Linked DNA regions of Homo sapiens: all the other regions are linked to region 1. Evidence: promoter capture Hi-C in 16 types of primary human blood cells and fetal thymus (Javierre and others, 2016). All regions are on one chromosome and are shown on one strand. Each heading gives the region's core, a stretch centred on a gene start or on the middle of the fragment in contact. The rest is flanking DNA. Distances are from core to core; before and after follow the strand shown. Region 1 holds the start of KRR1 (KRR1 small subunit processome component). Region 2 has its middle 35 kb from the start of BBS10. Region 3 overlaps LNCOG (lncRNA osteogenesis associated). Region 4 has its middle 68 kb from the start of NAP1L1. Region 5 overlaps NAP1L1 (nucleosome assembly protein 1 like 1).

What was found. The method cuts DNA at HindIII sites, captures the fragments that hold promoters and counts their contacts. A CHiCAGO score of 5 or more calls a contact.
Region 2: a contact is called between a fragment that was not itself captured here and the fragment with the promoter of KRR1 in region 1, in 1 of 17 cell types (M0 macrophages). The highest score is 5.7, in M0 macrophages.
Region 3: a fragment that was not itself captured here is called in contact with the fragment with the promoter of KRR1 in region 1 in 1 of 17 cell types (M2 macrophages); the score reaches 7.6 in M2 macrophages.
Region 4: a fragment that was not itself captured here is called in contact with the fragment with the promoter of KRR1 in region 1 in 5 of 17 cell types (activated CD4 T cells, M2 macrophages, naive CD8 T cells and 2 more); the score reaches 8.6 in activated CD4 T cells.
Region 5: a contact is called between a fragment that was not itself captured here and the fragment with the promoter of KRR1 in region 1, in 15 of 17 cell types (total CD4 T cells, naive CD8 T cells, naive CD4 T cells and 12 more). The highest score is 17.7, in total CD4 T cells.

What each region holds. Positions count from the first base shown.
Region 1 is chr12:75,510,294-75,512,993 of GRCh38, reverse strand. KRR1 (KRR1 small subunit processome component) reads left to right here and starts at 1,385. Exons shown (of 10, transcript NM_007043.7): 1 at 1,385-1,481. The coding sequence starts at 1,397. RefSeq lists enhancers at 1,418-1,577, 1,084-1,627, 1,628-2,172. The HindIII fragment of the contact is 5,214 bases long and covers 1-2,700 here.
Region 2 is chr12:76,311,706-76,314,405 of GRCh38, reverse strand. No RefSeq gene overlaps it. Among named protein-coding and RNA genes, the nearest start is that of BBS10, 35 kb to the left of the region's middle. The HindIII fragment of the contact is 7,990 bases long and covers 1-2,700 here.
Region 3 is chr12:76,286,038-76,288,737 of GRCh38, reverse strand. The region is part of intron 1 of LNCOG (lncRNA osteogenesis associated); the gene reads right to left. Among named protein-coding and RNA genes, the nearest start is that of LNCOG, 28 kb to the right of the region's middle. The HindIII fragment of the contact is 2,393 bases long and covers 124-2,516 here.
Region 4 is chr12:76,151,668-76,154,367 of GRCh38, reverse strand. No RefSeq gene overlaps it. Among named protein-coding and RNA genes, the nearest start is that of NAP1L1, 68 kb to the right of the region's middle. The HindIII fragment of the contact is 1,978 bases long and covers 362-2,339 here.
Region 5 is chr12:76,057,198-76,059,897 of GRCh38, reverse strand. It overlaps NAP1L1 (nucleosome assembly protein 1 like 1), which reads left to right. Exons shown (of 15, transcript NM_004537.7): 6 at 20-100. It also overlaps the pseudogene DENRP2. Among named protein-coding and RNA genes, the nearest start is that of NAP1L1, 26 kb to the left of the region's middle. The HindIII fragment of the contact is 7,125 bases long and covers 1-2,700 here.

The DNA of each region.
Region 1 (2,700 bases), core at 136-2,635:
GTAAATGGGAAGAAAAGCCTATGTAGAAAATTTTGCTATAAAATAAAGGGCTTTAACACAAATATTATTTCTAGACTATTCCCTCCCCTTAATCCCTATCAGCCCTCTAACACATTTGAAGCTCCTAATGAATAGTAGCCCCCTGAAGCTGCTAGGTCAAACTGCCTGAACTTGAAGACGGGCCTTCCACTTATTAGTGATTGAGTTACTTAAAATAAGAATGATAAAAACCTGCTTCATGAGGTGTACTCCTCACTTTATAACTTTCACCTGCTGCTATCTGTTCTATTTTAGGAATTTATCATTTTTTGAGGAAATTAAAAGAACAGAGATAAAATCCCTGTCATTTATAAAACTCACAGGATAAAAACAAAAAACCCCTCTGTCGTGGGTTCTTCTGTCCATATGTAACAATCTGTTTCATACCTGGATCTCATATATGAAAACCTAAATTATTGTATAAGATACACGAGAGTGGATTTATCAGACAAACGTGTATTTCACTAATGCAAGGAATTTAACCTATCAAAGACTTTCCCTATTTGCTGCAGAAAATTTTAGAAATGCAAGCAATAAAATCAAAATTTAAAAAAATCTTATATTTGGCATGTCGAAGAACTCTTATACTTCCAAAAGTGTAGTTATTTGTAGTTAGTGATGAACCTCTCTACACATCTTAGCCCTATGTAATGTTGGGGGTAGAAAAGGAGTTTAGAGATTTTGAGAAATCTTAGGCTAGTTGAAATACTTCAGAAACGTCAGGATGTTGAATTACCATCCCTCTGACTTAGAGAAATACCAACACTCGGGAAGATTACCATCAGAAACAACTTTGAAAAGTTTAATTTTGTCACTGTTTTTAAAATTAGAAATAATGTAAATAAAGTACTGAAACAAAGTAGTCTCACAATAAATAGTAGCTATTCCTGTCACTTGTTGCAGTGGAGGCCCAATATACATTGTATTCTCATATTTGTACTTCCTCCCAACATCTAGCGCATATTTGGCCAACATATAAATATTTATCGAAAGAATGAATGACATCAATGACAGGTTGGTAGCACTCCGCTGTCCGATGGTCCAGGTTAGGCCGTGAGGCCACGAGGAAACTACGGATAAAACAGTATCCAATTTGCCTATACCGCCTGCTAAACTACAAGTCCCAGTACGCAAACTCCATGGTTTCAGGGCATACTGGGAGAAAGTCTCCGGCTCTTCATTGGCCACGTAGGAGAAGCTGTGGTTTGTGTAAAAGCGCGGGCTTAACGCACGTACGCACGGAGACTGCGCAGATCTCCTCGTCTGAGTTCCGCGGAACTCATTTTGAGTGTAGGCGTTTTAGCCGGTAGGGTTTAAGAACAGTTTCATTTCCGGAGCCACCGGAAGCAGCTTGCAAATGGCGTCTCCCTCGCTGGAGCGGCCAGAAAAAGGCGCTGGAAAAAGTGAATTTCGTAACCAGAAGCCGAAGCCGGAGAACCAAGGTGATGTTATGTGGGAACCGAAGCCTGGGGTTTGTGTACGTTGAGTTGCGATGTTTTTTTCTTTCGTTCCTCGTGGACTTATAAAACCACCTGGAGCCTGTACTGTGTAGTTGAGTACCTGAATAATCGCTGATAAGATTTTGGCTGGGCCCACAGGAACGGCTGGCCGATATGGTGCCACCCAGGTGTTCCTAATTCATTGCTTTTGCTAAAGGGTCCCCAAAGCGAAGCTGTTGCGGATTACGTCTTTTGTAAAAGGATGAGTATTAAGAAAATGCCTAGGGCGACGCAGAACCTTGTAAGCCTGCGGGTGGCTGAAAGTCACTGACGGAATGAGGAATAGGGTGAGGTGGGAATAGGTAGTCATGATATACAAGAGTGGACCCTGATAATGGGGTGAGGTATGGGGAAAGGAGCTATCCGACATGTCCTTAGCTCTAGTTTGTCAGTAAAGACATTTTGAAAGATTATCAATTCCTGTTTGTCAGATGCTAAAATATTAGACGACACAGCCCTTACTGTTTAGGTTGTGTTACCTTTTAATTGTTAACTCCTGCGTTGTAGTCTGGTTTTACCCGTTTTCTTCAGTGTGAATGATAGAGAAGTCATAAATAGCCTGGGGATCTGTTCAACCAGGCTTATAGGAAGTGTTAAAAACATTGAACTCTCAATTTAGATGCATTGGGAAAGTATTCAAAGTTTCTTTGTTGTTGCTCATTAAATGATTATGTAACGTACATAGCAGGGGATACAACTTATATAGAGTTTAATAAAACCATGCGGGAAACTAGCATTCAGACTAAGTAAAATAGAGCATTACCATACCCCTCAAACCCTTACGTGCACCTCTCAGATCATATTCTCTTTTCCTGTATCAGACGTAACCACCCTGAATTGTGTTGCATTCTGTTCCTCTTCTTGTAGTCATGAAGTGGCTTAATTTAGCCTGTTTTTTAATTTTATATACATGAAAGTGGACCGTATGCATTTTTCTGTGTCTTCTTAGATTTAGCTTTTTGTTTTTCAAACAGGGTGATACTTGCGGGTGTAGTTTTAGTCTTTTCACTGTTATGTGGTGTTTCCTTGTATGAATATACCCCAATTTATTTTTTCATTTTACTATCGGTGGACATTTGGATTGTTCCCAATTGCTTGCAATTATAAACAATACTGCTAAAACATCTTTGTACATGTCTTCTGGTTAACATGTTCAAGGGTT
Region 2 (2,700 bases), core at 118-2,617, 800 kb before region 1:
GGTTCAAGCAATTCTCCTTCTTCAGCCTCCCAAGTAGCTGGGATTACAGGCACCTGCCACCACGCCCTGGCTAATTTTTGTATTTTTAGTAGAGACAGGGTTTCACCGTGTTAGCCAGGCTGGTCTTGAACTCCTGACCTCAAGTGATCTGCCCACCTCAGCCTCCCAAATTGCTGGGATCACAGGCATGAGACGTCATGCCCAGCGCTCCTGTGTTCCAATTTTCCTACTTTCTGGCCCTGGAGCAATTGAGGCCACTTTAGAGAAGTGACAGCTTGACCACCACGTGAGATCATCTGAGGTCTTAATTGTAAAATTCTATTTTAAAAATGCTAATATTGGGAGTGGTGATGGTGGTAAAATCATATTTTTATATTTTTAATATACATAATTTTATTTAATTAGTTACTTTCATGTTATCACCATCATTTTTATAATCACAAAAATTACTGTAATTTTGGATTTTAATATATGTCAGACACAATGGCATATTCTTTACATGCATTATTCCCCTAAATTTTGAGGTACATGTTATTCCCCATTTCCTAAATAAGAAGCTGGGGCTTACTGAGGTTAAGTATTTGCCCAAGGTCACGGAATCAGTAAGTGGGAAGCCAGGACTCAAATTCTGTGGATTTTGAGTTAAAGTCCATGACTGTAACTACTCTGCTCTTCTGGCAAAATGATGAGGACAGATATTTCCTTTCCTAAATCTTAATTTTTTCACCAGTAACGATGTTCATAGCTCACATCTGTCTTATTTTTTATAGAGAAGAAGGGGCTTGGATATTTGAAAAGGGTTTTTCTGCCAAAAAGAGGAGAGAGAGAAGGATGAAGAGGCACCCAGCACTGCCAATGCAGGCATGAAGCCAAACCCGTTTGTCTTCCCTGGTATACAGAGTGACCACAGGGGACATTTTAAAAGCTCTAGGGAGTTAGAGAGTGCTGAAGAAGAAATCTGGGCAGCAGGGCTGCGGCCAGCCTTTCAGCAGTTTGTGCTGGGAGCTGCTCCCCAATGAGACTTTCACCTCAGCTGGGTTTGCGCGCCGTACTCCCTAGGCTGAAAGTTCTCTGGATCGGTCTCCTCGAAGCAGTGCTCCCGACAGGCAGCACTGAGCCTTTCACCTGGAAGGAGGAAAAGAAGGGTTTCGTAGACACAAATGGGGAGGAAGGCGAGGGCTGCCCTGTTACTGCGATGCCCTCATCAGCCAAGTCTGGGCTGCTCCCTTTTTTTTTTTTTTTGAGACTGAGTCTCACTCTGTCGCCCAGGCTGGAGTGCAGTGGCGCGATCTCGGCTCACTGCAAGCTCCGCCTCCCGGGTTCACACCATTCTCCTGCCTCAGCCTCCGGAGTAGCTGGGACTACAGGGCCTGCCACCACGCCCGGAGAATTTTTTGTATTTTTAGTAGAGACGGGGTTTCACCGTGTTAGCCAGAATGGTCTCGATCTCCTGACCTTGTGATCCTCCCGCCTCGGCCTCCCAAAGTGCTGGGATTACAGGCGTGAGCCACCGCGCCCAGCCCGCTGCTCCCTCTTTTTAAAGAGTGGCTCCTCCCCCTGTTCTAGCTTTCAGGTCTGACCAGAAACAGTCTCTTCTTTGACTCTGCCTCCTTGACCACAGTGAGTGGTCCAGGGATAAGCAAGTCAGATTGACTGAAGTGGGGAGAAGGCTCTCAAAGGTCCTGAGACTGTAAGATGTAAGAGACTCTGAAGAAATGAAAATTTTCCACTGTAGGCCTCCATGTCCTTGTCCACTGTAGCTGTTCCTCCCCACCCCCGCCGCTCACACATGACCGGACTGTTCCTCCCACTCCTCTTGGTAAAATCCAAGTTGTCCAAACAGTGACCGCTAATTGCTAAAGAAAATTCCTTCCTTTTCTAGGAACCATCTTTGTTCTTAAAACAAAGTGAACTTGAGCTGACCCTGCCTGCTGAAGCCCTATAAAAAATTCCACCCTCCTTCCCAAGTTAGAACGCTCCTTTTCACGCCGGCATTACTGAAAGGCTTATGCTAATGGTGTTCTTGGTTTTTTCCACAGAGGATATAAGTTAAGAGATGTTGAGATGCTAGCAGCAGGTCTACAGCTTGTGGAGAAGCCAGTCTGGGAGAAGGAAATTAACGTGCAAACAGGTTAAGAAATAAGTGGTAGAGGGAGAGACAGAGAGATCCCCTCGCGTTTAATTTTCCATCTTGCTTCTCTAAGACCAGGATTCTTCCCTGTTCTTCTCATTTTTGGTTATGTAAGTAAATTAGTTAAAAATGTAAGATTAAAAAAAGGAGCACCACAACATCTTCACATGTGGCTGTGCAAACGTAATGTTATAACTGTATACTGAAAGAAATTCGAATTTAGAGCCTCGGTGTCCAGGAATAAGGGTAAACATTATCTTGTCCTTTCACATAGCTCTGTCAGCTCACTCTCTTCTGGGTAAATGATGAGTCAGAAACACAGGATTCTTCTCTCATTCAATGCCACCCTCACTTCTGGGAATGAATAAGTTGCTGGAGAATCAGGATGTTGAAGAGTAATTTTTAAAAAACCCATGCAATTACACAATGCCAAAAATCTTGTTTCACTTATTATTTATTTATTTTTACTTATTTATTTTTTTTGAGACGGAGTCTCGTTCTGTCGCCCAGGCTGGAGTGCAGTGGCACAATCTCGGCTCACAGCAAGTTCTCCCTCCCGGGTTCACGCC
Region 3 (2,700 bases), core at 71-2,570, 780 kb before region 1:
TAGTGGTGTTCAACCTAGAATTTCACATTCCAATATGGTTATAATAGTGTCCGCATGCTGTTTTTCTTAGTTTAAGCCTCTAATAGCTGTTGCATATTTTCTTATATAAAGTCTGTGCAAGCTTCTTTGGGCAATAGTTATATTAATCCAGTTTAGTAACACTGGGGATCACATAAGAAATGAATCAGTTACTTAACAACTTCTGGTTGATTAAAAAAAATTCTTTCAAAAGATAGCAAGTATGAGAAAGGATAAAAGCATTCCTTGGTGGTAACATCACTAATCATCAAGGATATACAAATCAAAACCACAGTGCAATATCATTTCACACCTGTTTAAAATGGCTATTATCAAAAAGATGAGGCAATTTTTGGCAAGAGTGTGGAGAAAAGGAGACCTTTGTACATGGTTGGTGGGAATGTAAATTAGTATAATCAATATGGAAAACAGAACAGAGGCTCCTCAAAGCTAAAAATAGAAATACCATATATCCAGCAATCTATCTATGGGTGCATAACCAAAGGAAATGAAATTACCACCCCCATGTTTATGCATTATAATTATGCAGCATAATTTATTGCAGCATAATTCACAATATCCAAGATCTAGAAACAATAACCAAGATATGGAAACAACCTAAGTGTCCATTGATGAATGAATAGATAAAGAATTTATGGTACATGTCTACAATGGAATATGATTCAGCCTTAAAAAAGAGAGATCTTGCCATTTGTGACATGGTTGAACCTAGAGGACGTTATGCTAAGTGAAATAAGCCAGACATGGAAAGAAGAGTACTATATGATCTCATTTATGTGCAATCTAAAAAGAAAAACAAAGCTCAAATGCATAGAAACAGAATAGAACAGGGGTGGGGAGATGAAGAGACAGAAGTCAAAGGGTAAAAAGTTAGTTATGTAGGATGAAGAAATCTGGAGATCTAGTGTATAACATAACTATCCTATAGTTAATAGAATTGTATTTTATACTGAAAATTCACTGAAAGTAGACCTTATGTACTTTTGCCACCCACACTAAAAAAGTAACTATGTGAGATGATGAATATGCTAATTTGCTTCTTGACTGTAGTGACCATTTCATTATGTATGTTTGTCAAGACATCATGTTGTACACCTTAAATATATACTATTTTTTTTTTTAAATTACTTGGTGGTAGAAATTAGCAAACACTAATCTAGGCCAGCTCTCTTATTTTAGTGGTGTGCAAACTGAGACAGAAGGCCCTAGCTGAGGAACTAGCCCAAGGTCATAACCTACTCAATAGCTGGCACAGGGCTGGAAAGCAGACCCTCACACTCTAGCTCGGTGCTGGTCTACCGAGAGTTTCCCATTTCTACTGGGAATTGCTATTGACACATGCAGGGCAGAGGAAAAGGAAACTAATAATTGTTGAAGGCTTAATATTTACAAGTCACTGTATGGATGCTTTATTATGTATTATCTCCTTTCTCCTCTGCACACACACGCACACACATGTGTGCACACACACCCACACAAAACCCTATGAAGTGGCTCTTAATTTCCTTTCTTTCTCTCTCCTTCTTCCTCTTTTTCTTCTTTCCTCCTCCATCCCTCCCTCCCTCCCTTCCTTCCCTTTCTTTCTTTCTACAAAACTGAGACCATCAAGGATTAAGAAATGCTGCCCAAGTCAGCCAAGTCTAAAGTGTCTCTCCAAATCTAGAATATTTCAGGATATTTACATGGCTCTCAGGTGCACACCTTCCTGTTTTTGAGAAAAGTTCATGGGATGGGAACCTTGAAAGGTCCTGGGAAAAATATGGTGGCCTAGTGCTCAAGAGAGTACTAGAGAAAATGGTAAAAGTCCCAGGTAAACCAGAAAATTCTTCAAACCCAGTTCTTTTCAGATTTTGTATCTGGCCTGAACCACATTATCTGCCTCCCTCTACTCTCCAGTTCTCTGTCTCTACTGGCACAGCCCAGCCCCTCTCTCCTCCCCTAACCTTCTGAGATCTCCACTAAGGGACAGTCTAAGCAATGGAAATAGGCAACTTTGCCCTTTATCTCTAGGTCCTTCCTCTATCCTGACACGGCTATCTAGTTGCAAATCCAGATATCAAGTTGAACTTCAAGTTTACAATGTGTCAATCTTCAACTAGCTCCTCTTCCACTATTTCCCATTTCTGCAATGGCATTATGATCTCCCCAGTCAGCGAGGCTTGACCCTCAGAAATCTCTCTTGTCTCACATCGTTGCAGGTCTAAGCCCTGTAGGAGCCACTCCCTAATTTCCTTCACAGTCTTTCCTACCATCCACAGCCACCACCAATTCTCCATCACAGACTTCATAGCCCCTCACCTGGATTACTGCGATGACCTCTTGCTTTCCTGTCCCATCTCAATCACTCTCTCATTCTATCCATCCCATTTCCATATCTTGCCAGGTTAATTTTTTTGAAAGCTCAGCCCTGATCATGTCATATGACTCCTTAAAAACTGCCAGTGTTTTCCTGTCACTACCAAGGTAAATACAAAGCTTGACTCATGTTCAAGCCTCACCCAATTTCATTTCTCATCTCCAGTATCCCTATAGCATCTTCTATGGATGACAACAGTAAACTGCTTCTATACCATTATTTCCCCCGACTCTTCCATCTCAAAGCTTTTCCATCTCCATGGAGCAGTTGATACTACCGTTCCCTTTTCCTGGGATGCCTCCACA
Region 4 (2,700 bases), core at 101-2,600, 640 kb before region 1:
TCCCAGCACTTTGGGAGGCTGAGGCGGGTGAATCACTTGAGGTCAGGAGTTTGAGACCAGCCTGGCCAATATGGTGAAGACCCGTCTCTACTAAAAATACAAAAATTAACTGGGCGCGGTGGTGAGTGCCTGTAATCCCAGTTACTTAGAAGGCTGAGGCAGGAGAATTGCTGGAACCTGGGAAGTGGAGGTTGCAGTGAGCCAAAATCACACCACTGCCCTCCAGCCTTGGTGACAGAGTGAGACTCAGTCTCAAAAAAAAAAGTGCATATATATATATATATATAAATTTATATATATATTATATATATACACACACACAATGGCGGATGCTTTGTCTATATTTCTAAAATGTTAAGCTTCATACAAACTATGTACTGGTGGTGAATTGCAAAAATGACTATAATTTTTTCCCATCTCTGTAAGCATACCTCTTTAAAATGTGAATTTGAAGCTCCTCCCACCAAGAGGTAGATTCTATTTCACCATACCTTGCGTCTGGGCTTGGCTGTGTGACTTGATTTAGAAAATGAGACTAGCAAATAAGAAGCAAGCAGAGACTTGCACATTATGCCTTGTTCTCTTTTGCTGTGGTTAGAACCCTGAGATCTCCATGTGGAGGAGCCCAAACTGGCATGCTGAAAGATGAAAGGAGAAAGTATGAAGTGTCCCTGCCAGCCAGCTCCTAACCAACAACCTGCCAACGGCCGGACATGTGAGCAAGGCCATCCTAGACCATCCAGCTTCCAGTCAAATCTCCAGCTGACCACAGACAATATAAGCAAGCCCAGCAAAGAACAGGAAAGCAAACCTAGAGAAAAGCTACACAACCAGCCTGCAGAATTATGAGTGAAATAAGTACTTGCTGTTTTAACCAGCTAAATTTGTTATGCAGCAATAGCTAGCTGATATTGCACTCAGTAAATAATTATTAATTCAGATTTCTCAGAATGAGTATGAAAATGAAAAAGTAATTATGTATATTTAGAACAAAGCAAAGAGAAATCTGCTAAATAGAATAGAAACTGGCAGACATAAGGCTGATTTTTCTTCTTGAATTAAAATAAATAAATAAATAAATGAAGCAATAGAGGCCAGGTGCAGTGGCTCATGCCTGTAATCCCAGCACTTTGGGAGGCCAAGGCGGGCACATCACCTGAGGTCGGGAGTTGGAGACCAGCCTGACCAACATGGAGAAACCCCATCTCTAATGAAAATATACAATTAGCCGGGCATGGTGGTGCATGCCTGTAATCCTAGCTACTCGGGAGGCTGAGGCAGGAGAATTGCTTGAACCCGGGAGGCGGAGGTTGAGGTGAGCCAAGACCATGCCATTGCACTCCAGCCTGGGCAACAAGAGGGAAACTCCGTCTAAAAAAAAAAAAAAACCAATAGAAACAAATTTGTAACTCAACTTTTATTTATTTATTTTTTGAGACAGGATCTCACTCTGCAGTGGTGTGAGCATGGCTCACTGCAGCTTCAACCTCCTGGGCTCAAGCAATCCTCCCACCTCAGCCTCCTGAGTAGCTAAGACTACAGGTAAGTGCCACCATGCTCAGCTAATTTTTTAATTTTTGTTGTTGTTGTTTCAGAGACAAGTTTTCACTATGTTGCCCAGGCTGGTCTCTAACTCCTGGACTCAAGCAATCCTCCCACCTCAGCCTCCCAAAGGGCTGGGATTACAGGCATGAGCCACCACACCTGGCCTGTAACTCAACTTTTGATTCACCTGCCACTCTGACCAGTTCTATGAATCTGCTGAGTTCATTCTGGGCCTCATTCAAAATAATACTGACTCCTTGCCGCATTGAAGTGTGGGGAGGACTAATAAACCTTTCTTTCTTGTTCAAAAAGAATCCTGGGATCCTTGAATGAGGTAGGAAAGACAGAGCATTATTGCTGACACAGAAGCACGTCAATGGTTTCTGCATTGATATGTAGCAACAGAGAAGCCTCTTTAGGAAAGGGATGGGCTGGTTCCGCAGCCAGGGATAGAAACTAGAGAAAGCAGTAGGTGGGTACAGGAAGTGCAGGGAGGCATATGAGTATGTGAATTTCAGACATGTTCCTATTTTTAGTGTTGGCTAGGCAGTATCTGTATTTTTGTCTGTTCAAACAGCATACCTTCTCAGGAAGGAGGATAAAAACATCGGTATATATAGGGAAGATAAAAACATAGGTTTAGCATTTGCAGCACAAATTGCAAACTTTTTAAAGATTTAACTTTTCCAGCAGCTTGTCTGCTAATACTTAATAGCCAAAGTATAGAATATAATAGTTTTGCTGAGACTAAAATATTTTACTGATTTGAAAAGACTTTCAAAGTCAGAAAAGCTTATAAAATAAATAAAATCTGTTTGTACATTTTAATAACTCAAGACTATGGTTTTTAGGGAAAAAAATTACTTTTTTCACCCAAAATCAAATTTCAGTGTTAAATGTCCCTCTATACAGTCTGCACCAATAAGTCCCAAACTCTGATTACTAGCGTTCCTAAGGCACTTTTCAAAAATTTCTCTAGCGACCTCAGCCTCACTTATGGATATTCTGACCAAGTGGAACATAGGACTCTATTTTCTTTCTTCCTTTTTTTCTTTTCTTTTTTTTTTTTGAGACAGAGTTTCGCTCTTGTTGCCCAAGCTGGAGTGCAGTGGTGCAATCTCGGCTCACTGCAACCTCCAACCTCCCTCTGCCTCC
Region 5 (2,700 bases), core at 130-2,629, 550 kb before region 1:
TTTTTTTAAATCATTTTAGCGATTTGAAATTATTAATGCAATTTATGAACCTACGGAAGAAGAATGTGAATGGAAACCAGATGAAGAAGATGAGATTTCGGTTAGTACCAACTTTATTTTGGTATGTTTTTAAGATGATAAAATCTTAGGACTTGTCAGAAATGTTAGCATTTAATGATGGAGTACAATATTATATAACCAGTTGTATTTTTTCATTTTTTAATTTTACGTCTTTATTACACGTTTTTCTATTACTTTATTTTTAAAAAACAGTCATTCAAGATTGTAATTTGCATGGCAATAAGCAGCGGTTTCATGGGTTCTAAGTTTCTTAAGTGTCCACAGCAGTTTAAAACACCACAAGTCTTATTTCCAATTTGCAGCACCTGACTTAAAGTTCGAATTCATCTGATGGAGCATTAAAACTGTCATTTTCTCTTGTGAAAAGACATAATTGCTATTTCCAGGACTGTATATTGAACATGGTTGTACATTATTTTTAATTGGTTAGTAGAATTTTACTCATGTAATTTATATCCAGAATAAGAACCTCTAGCATCTCTGAATGGCCTTCCTCTCAGAACGATGATGATTAAATGTCTAAAATGTATCTGGGGTGCCCCCACTTGACATTACCAAACATGTTTCCAAATAATCTTAGAAAATATGATTCTTTAAACATATGCATACCACATCTTTAAACATAAACATACCACACAGTGCACCATCACTTCCTTAACCATTTTCCAATTGTTCACTTATAACATTTGCAATTTTTTATTATAAATCATATTGTGATGAATACTTTCATCCATAAGTTTTATTGCAAGGCTTATTGTTTCTTCTAATGTCTTCTAATTTCAAAGAAGTGGCTTACTGGTTCAAACAGTGCACATACGTGGTTTTAAGGCTTTTAGTATACTTTACCAAATAATCTCCAGAATAGCTCCAACAACTCCTACCAACAGTATGTTATTGTGCCCATAGGGTGGACTTGATAACAGCAAAGCAAATTCAACCACAGATATATTAGATTCTCACCCATCTCAAAACTATCACATCAGAGAAGCAAGGAGACATATTATTGGTGAGGAAGCCAAATTCAAATTCTTTTAAAAAATCACTCAGCTTTAGATCAGTAAAATAATCAACAAAAATGGTCACCGCAAAGTCTACCGGGTTTTTCAAAAAATAAAAAGAGAGAAAGAGAAAGGCCAGGCGCAGTGGCTCATGCCTGTAATCCCAGCACTTTGGGAGGCCTAGGTGGGCCAATCACTAGGTCAGGAGTTCGAGACCAGCCTGGCCAACATGGTGAAATCCCATCTCTACTAAAAATACAAAATATTAGCTGGGTGTGGAGGCGGGTGCCTCTAATCCCACCTACTCGGGAGGCTCAGGCAGGAGAATCACTTGAACTCGGGAAGTCGAGGTTGCAGTGAGCCGAGATCGCACCACTGCGCTCCAGCCCAGGCGACAGTGTGAGACTCCGTCTCAAAAAAAAAAAAAAAAAGTACCAAATAACCAAAATTTTTTATTTGACTAAATTCTGTTCATGTATGAGCATGACAGTCTCTCCTGTTTATTTGACTTTGGCAATAAAAAAATAAGCAGCCTTGTACAGAACAGGGAAAATGCCAAGAACGAAGGCAGTCTACAGTTTTACTGTAGAATACATATATATATATATATATATATATATATATGTAGGCCTCTCTCCCTTTGGCCATATCTACTGTCAGTTCAGGCCATTAACTACAGACAAATTTTCAAATTCACTTCTTCTCCAAGATCTTCGATGCTGTCATCATCTACTTCTGTCTGTTTTTCCTGAATGACCTCAATTATGTCATCTGTAAAGTCTCCTTGAATGATAATTTCATCCTCCTCTGTTACTGAGGCACCACAGGAGAATTTTTGAGCAAAAAATCTTTGTGTGATTTAAGATCAATTTCAAAAGTTACAAGGCCACAACCCTTGTCACATATTTCTTTGCTCTGGGAATTTTGGCTATAGTAACCTTTTGTGGTACCGTCTTTGTTTTTTTGTTTTATTTGACCCCTTCCACCTCTCTTCTGTTTTTTCTTCTCCTCTTCTTCCCCTGCTGTTCCTTGACCTTGACAGATTCCAGCTTCTTGTTTGGGTGAATTTTCCACAGTAAGTTTTGCATATTCATTTGGAAAATTCTTCTCTAATCATTGTCTACATTTAGCAACATCAGGCATATATTCACAGTACTCTATTGGTAATGAACAGACTCCACAATAAAGGACTCAAAGTAGGTAATCAGCATCTAACTTGGCTCTGTTCCTTGGGTCTCCTTTGCAGTCAGCCCTATTGGAATCGGAAACGTCAGCAGCCATTTCACAAACCCAGGCAGTTGCACAGGCCCCGCCAGCTCTGCTCCCGCCACTGTTGCCAGCTGAGCCGACAAATGCAACTCGTTTCCCCGGCCAGGGCCTCCCTAGAGCATCAGTTGTATTTTTATACCTAGGAAATATTTTTCCTTTTTGTAAGAATGATAATGCAGATGAACTGTTATTCAACCTGGCACCACCATCTGTACTCAAAAAGTCATTATTTCCTTACATTTTATAGTTTTTTTGTTTAAGAGACAGGGACTTGCTGTGTTGCCCAGGCTGGAGTACACTGGCATGATCTTGGCTCACTGCAGCTCATTCCTGGGCCCAAGCTATTCTCCCA